Linked DNA regions of Homo sapiens: region 2 is linked to region 1. The links are contacts of gene promoters, found by promoter capture Hi-C in human tissues and cell types (Jung and others, 2019). All regions are on one chromosome and are shown on one strand. Each heading gives the region's core, a stretch centred on a gene start or on the middle of the fragment in contact. The rest is flanking DNA. Distances are from core to core; before and after follow the strand shown. Region 1 holds the start of COL6A3 (collagen type VI alpha 3 chain). Region 2 overlaps COL6A3 (collagen type VI alpha 3 chain).

Region 1 (3,218 bases), core at 222-2,721:
GGGAGATAATCCATGGAAAGGAGTTAATGATTTCTTTGCTCTTCAAACTTGGTTTGGAAGGATCTCTCAGTCAAAAAGAACCTTTCGGATGTCTCTTGATATTTCACATTAATGGACTTTTCATAAGGACCACATGATGGGAGAGCAGTGAGAAGTTTGGGGATGGCCAAAGCTGGGTTGTCATTTGAGCTCTGTTACTAACCCAGACTGGACAATGACGATGTCACTTACTCTCTCGGAACTTCTTTTCTTTTCTTCTTTTCTTTTCTTTTTTTCTTTTTTCTCTTCTCTTCTCTTCTCTTCTCTTCTCTTCTCTTCTTTTCTTTTCATTTCTTTTCTTTCTTTCCTTTTTCTCTTTTTTGGAGTCTCACTCTGTTGCCCAGGCTAGAGTGCAGTGGCGCCATCTCGGCTCACTGCAACCTCTGCCTCCTGGGTTCAAGCAATTGTCCTGCCTCAGCCTCCCAAATAGCTGGGACTACAAGCGCCTGCCACCATGCCTGGCTAATTTTTATATTTTTAGTAGAGATTTAGTAGGGGTTTCACCATGTTGGCCAGGCTGGTCTCCAACTCCTGACCTTGTGATCTGCCTGCCTTAGCCTCCCGAAGTGCTGAGATTACAGGCATAAGCCACCGTGCCCAGCCTGTTTCTTTCATCTGTAAAATGGGACCACAATTTCACCTAATAAAAGAAGACATCTTTCTATTTAAAAGGGCTTAGGGTGTTGATGTTTGTGATAAAGGAGAGAATGTATATTGAAGTGTTTTGAAATGTGCAAAGCTTTCTAGAAACAGAAGTTCTTACTCAAGTATTTTCCCGAAGCTTTGGCAAGATAACCATTTTTATTACCCCGTCTGTGCCTAGAATGGGCCTATAAGCGCCACAATCAGAATCATTAGATATAGAAATTAAGAGAAATGTAGCCTCCTTTTTTTTGCCGGTGAACAGAGCTTTGGTTAACAGAAAACCAAGGCGATTTTAATTGCTGGTTTTTCTATTTGAAGGGGGAAGTTATTAGTAGAAGTCTCAATTCAGAAACTTCAAGAAGAAATGGGAGGGTGTGGTGAGGGTAAGCGGGGGACTGCATTTCCTGTTTTCCTTTCAGATGGTGTTGGAAAACATTGCAGGAAAACCATGGATACCCACGAAGAAATTCCAAAATTTATTCTTTTTGACGCCAAGGGCCCAGCCCAAAAGGTGACGAGTAGGAGTGGTCAATTTTTTTTTTTAAGAGTTGGGGCTTGCAGGAGTCCAGCTAAACGCTTGTAGGGTGAAGACAGAATTCAGAGGGTGACATCAGCCTGAGCGGGGGCCAGAAGAAACAGAGTGGAGGAGTCTGGTTTCATTTACAGTTTTGGGTCAGTTCTGCAGTGAGGAGGGGGAGAGGAGGGGTCCGGGAGGGAGGAGGAGGAGGAGGAGGAGCTGGAGGAAGCCCTGACTGGTATCCCTGGCCCCAGTCCAGTTTGGAGCTCAGTCTTCCACCAAAGGCCGTTCAGTTCTCCTGGGCTCCAGCCTCCTGCAAGGACTGCAAGAGTTTTCCTCCGCAGCTCTGAGTCTCCACTTTTTTGGTGGAGAAAGGCTGCAAAAAGAAAAAGAGACGCAGTGAGTGGGAAAAGTATGCATCCTATTCAAACCTAATTGAATCGAGGAGCCCAGGGACACACGCCTTCAGGTTTGCTCAGGGGTAAGTGTGATTTCTCTTCTGTTTTTCCAGGTTTGGGGCTAGAAGGAAATGCTCTTAACCTGAAGTGATCCTTTCTAGGTAGCGTTAGTGGCTCTTACGTTCATGCTGATCGCCAGTTTTCTGTACATGTTTTAGGTCTCTGGAAGATTCCGCTGATTTTTCTTTCTCACTTTATGGCAATGGGATTTCCTTAAATTGGTTAAGGTCATGATTGCCTAAGAGTGTGAGCACTTTTCCACCGCGTGTCTGTGGCTGCTACACGCGCCCTGTGCATTCCGGGCGGCAGTGTGTTTCGGCCCATGATTTATTTAAGTTACTGCCGCCTTCTAAAACCCATTCGGGATCCGCTTTGTTTGCAGAAGCGTCTTTGCTGAGGACTAGCATAGCTCCCTGCCGGGCGGCTCCGCTGGGAGATGTTCTCTGAGCTCTCTGGGTGGTGACACTAGGTCAGGGTGCAACAACCTGCATGGGTTTTCTGCCCAGGGCCGCCCATGGGAAGGTCCTGGTGGAGCACATTTGCTGCTTTCACAAGATTGGAGTAACTCTGGTGCTCAGGATCAGGGCCAAGTAAAGGGTCGCTCAGTCATTGCCGTCAAGCTTTCGTCTTTCCAGGAACCTGAAGTCTCTATTGGAGACTTTGTCCCTTGGGGTTGCTTAAAGGAGTTGCAGGGGTCAGAGGAGAAGAAGGAATTGGGCATTTGGGCAGCATGCTGAGTGTCTAAGGCAGGGCCCCTGGGGCTGCAGGGCCAGCCCATGCTGCACAGAGGTGAGGCCAGTGCCGAGCTGGGAGGCCCCGAGGGCTGTTCTCTGGCCCGGAGGATGCAGGGTGGGGCTCGGGCCCTCTCTTGCTGAGGATGGACACGTTCGCTGACAGTGGCCAGCCTGTTTGGGGAACCTGTTTCAAGGGGCCTACTATGTTGGATAATGAACGGGTATTGAAGTATGGGTGGGGTCACTGGGAGGGACTAGGGAGTGGTTAAAGAAAAATCTGCTTCCACAGGAAGCCCCAGGAGCCAGTTTCGAGGCCGGTGCAGACCCCAGGAGCAAACCCCTCTGAGCACAGGGGAGTCTGCTGTGCTGGATGGGGAGGCAGGGCTGTGGCCCCGGCTGACTGGCTTCTCTCCCCACATACAGCTCACCCCGGCGAGGACCACAGGGTGCTAGAGCTGCAGGGTGCTCAGAGCTCACGGGGATGGTGGATGCTCAACCTGGGATCCCCCAGCTCCCCAGGGTCCCATTCTTAATGCTGTAAAAAACAACCGAAATGGCTTTAAAATCAAAGTTACATTGCTCCTAAGCAAAACTATATTGAAAACTGAGTGGGTGGCCGTTGATGACATTACTGGGACTTCTGAGGTTTTTGTTGGGCTAAAGATAATGGAAGAGATTTTTGGTCAGAAGCCACTGATGCAGTAGTTTCCTGGTTTTCAAAATGAGCAACCAGGGGCTCTGAGATGCGGAATTCCTTGCCCAGGCCAGGGAGCGAGTGCCTGAGATGGCAGTGAAATCCTTCCCCATTGAAGGAGAGCAGACAAG
Region 2 (3,218 bases), core at 1-2,500, 60 kb after region 1:
CACCCGGATGAGGGTGGAGGAAGGGTGTCTGTGTGTGCGAGTTTCCCCAGGGCTGATGAGGTGTGGTTTCTGGTTCTTGGCACGATGTGGGTGCTTGGGAAGATTCCCCTGAGTAACCGCAGAATAAGAGGGTGAAGTCTGAAAGAGCTCTAGGCCCCATGCCCAGCGTCCCATGCTCCCCCTCACAGTTTGTGGGACTTTTTCTTCCACAGGGTGGCTTTGGCCGAAGGGGACCCCCCGGAGCTAAGGTGAGCCTCATGCAGTGCCCCCTGGAGACTCTCTTCAAACAGCCCAGATGCCGCCCAGCCCAGGAGTGAAAAACACTCTCTCCTGTGAACCCAAAGCTTCGGAGACAGATACCAATCAATTTAGAAAGTTGATTTCGCCAAGGTTAAAGACATGCCCGTGACACAGCCTCAGAAGGCCCTGATGACACCTGCCCAAGGTGTTCGGGGCACAGCTTGGTTTTACACATTTTAGGGAGACATGAGACATCAATCAATATGTGTGAGATGTACATTGGTTCGGTCCAGAAAGGTGGGACAACTCGAGGCAGGGGAGGAGGCTTCCAGGTCATAGGTAGATAAGAGACAAAAGGTTGCATTCTTTTGAGTCTCTGATTAGCCTTTCACTGAATACACAGTTTACCAGAACAGTCACCTATGCCTTAGTTAGGCTTAGTGAAAAACAGGGCGAAGGAAGCAATTGGATATGCCTTTGTCTCCCATGAGCAGAGGGATGACTTTCAGTTCTGTCTGTCCTTTGTCCACAAGGAATTTCCCTGTGGGCAGAATGTGAGGGAGGTATTCAGCTTAAAAAAAAAAAAATCTGGCCAGGACGGTGGCTGATGCCTGTAATCCCAGCACTCTGGGAGGCTGAGACAGGCGGATCACCTGAGGTTGGGAGTTCGAGACTAGCCTGACCAATATGGAGAAACCCCGTCTCTACTAAAAATACAAAATAGCCAGGCGTGGTGGTGCATGCTTGTAAGCTTGTAATTCCAGCTACTCAGGAGCCTGAGGCAAGAGAATCACTTGAACCCGGGAGGCAGAGGTTGCAGTGAGCCAAGATCATGCCATTGCACTCCAGCCTGGGCAACTAGAGTGAAACTCCATCTCAAAAAAAAAAAAAAAAATTCTTTGTAGCTATCTTATTTAAGAATAGAATGGGAGGCAGCTCTGTCTGATGCAGTTCCCAGCTTGACTTTTCCCTTTGGCTTAGCGATTTTGGGGTTCTGAGATTTATTTTTCTTTCATCCTCCTTGGGCTGTTCTGGCTCCCGAGGCTCTGTCAGCCGTCTCCTTAAACAGCCTCTTCTGCAGAGTCTAGAGAAAATGGTGCCCAGTGGGGACTTGGGGTCCAAGTGCAGGAAACATGACTGAGGCAGTAGTGTCCCGGGCGGGCGCCTCTTCCAGAACGTGCTCACCTATCTGGCCATCAGCAACCCGCAACTTCCCGGTGTCTCGGTCCTCTGCTTTAGGTCTAAATGATCCCTGTTTCACAAAGCTGTCCGAGGAGAGGTGAGGCAAGAGTGAGGAACAATTGTAGAAGTGCAGGGAGACAGCTGGCTCCTGTGCTCAGTGTCTCACCTGGGGTTACCGCTTTGATCATCTGTTACCTCTGGAAGAGCTGAGTTTTCCCTGGTTGCTTTCCAAGTCCCTGGCCCAGAAATGACTGTAGAGCAAAGAGCTGACATTGACAGGAACCATCCTGACTCCTCCCTGCATCTTCTCTTATTTCAAAGGGCAACAAGGGCGGTCCTGGCCAGCCGGGCTTTGAGGGAGAGCAGGGGACCAGAGGTGCACAGGTGAGTGCTTCCGTGTGTGACTGTGTGCCCTCTGATATTTCACAAATCATTTAAAAAATGATTGGGTGGCATTTATATCCGGAAAGTTAACCATTTTAAAGTGAACAATCCAGTGGCATTTGGTACTTCCACAATGCTGTGCAATCATCACCTCTATCTAGGTTCAAAACACAGTCTCGAAGGAGACCTGTACCCATTAGCAGTCACTCCCCATCACCCTCCACCCCGAGTCCCTGGAAACCACTAATCTCTCTCTCTTTATGGATTTGCCCACTATGGATATTTTGTATAAATGGAATCATTTACTAGGCAGCTTTGTGTGTGTGGCTTGACGGAGCATCATGTTCTTGAGCTTCATCCACATTGCAGCATGTAGAAGCACTTCATTCCTTTACATGATGGAAGGATACTCTGTTGTGTGGCTACAGCACACTTTGTTTATCCACTCATTGGTTGATGGAGATTTAGGTTGTTGCCATCTTCTGGCAATTGTGAATGATGCTTCTGTGAAGATTCTCCTACACGTTTTTGTCTGAATGCTTGTTGCTTGTATACATTTTAAGCTCACTTGCCTATTCACGATCTGGATTGAGGCAGCTGCTACTGCAGCTAAGACAGGATAATTGTGGGTTTTGGTGGCCGTTTTTGGCCAGCAGAAGTGAGGTTCCAGGCCCTGTGGGATGGGCAGATGCCATGCAGAGGCTTCTCATGGAAAGTCACCTCATTAGCACTCACGATGGTCTTTTCCTTCCTCAGGGCCCAGCTGGTCCTGCTGGTCCTCCAGGGCTGATAGGAGAACAAGGCATTTCTGGACCTCGGGTAAGCCTGTCCTAATACCAGCCCCCTCTCTAGCTGAACAGAGGGCACATTGCCAAGCAGGCTGAGAGAGTTTCTCGGATGATGCTATTGTAGACAGACCTCCCTTTAGCTCTCCTCTTTGGCAACAAAAACCCCAGATTTAACCTCAGGCCTTGCAGTGACTGGCTACTTCACCCCAAGAAAGTAAGAGTTTCCTTTTTTGGTGCTCCATGGGCCTCTAAGTCTCAATTCTGCTCCTTCCAAGTGTCCCTGGGTGGAAATCAGGGGATATGCCTCAGGATGGAATCCTGGAAAATCTAAATCTACCAAAATGCTTAGATTCTGCAAGGTGTTTCCCCTTTGGTCCCTGGAGATAGCCCCTTGTGCTTATGTATTTTGTATAGTGAGTGCCTCAAGTTCACCCATGAGTTCAGCACAGAAGATGGCCCTTAAACTTGCTGTGACTGCAGATGTTATCTTGCAAAGCAGCTATCAGCAATGATGAGCAGAGACACACTGTCATTGCTGGGCTAGGATCAGGTGTCACGGAATTACGTATTCGGGTTTCCCTCATGGCTGAGATGATATTGAGGGAGGCATCCTATCATTTATTA

Evidence for each region. The method cuts DNA at HindIII sites, captures the fragments that hold promoters and counts their contacts. A contact is called where the count stands out against the background at its distance.
Region 2: a fragment that was not itself captured here is called in contact with the fragment with the promoter of COL6A3 in region 1 in 1 of the 25 tissues and cell types used here (mesenchymal stem cells).

The regions. Positions count from the first base shown.
Region 1 is chr2:237,412,417-237,415,634 of GRCh38, reverse strand. It overlaps COL6A3 (collagen type VI alpha 3 chain), which reads left to right and starts at 1,471. Exons shown (of 44, transcript NM_004369.4): 1 at 1,471-1,682. The HindIII fragment of the contact is 4,662 bases long and covers 1-3,218 here.
Region 2 is chr2:237,351,929-237,355,146 of GRCh38, reverse strand. It overlaps COL6A3 (collagen type VI alpha 3 chain), which reads left to right. Exons shown (of 44, transcript NM_004369.4): 24 at 213-248; 25 at 1,744-1,806; 26 at 2,563-2,625. Among named protein-coding and RNA genes, the nearest start is that of COL6A3, 61 kb to the left of the region's middle. The HindIII fragment of the contact is 3,760 bases long and covers 1-3,130 here.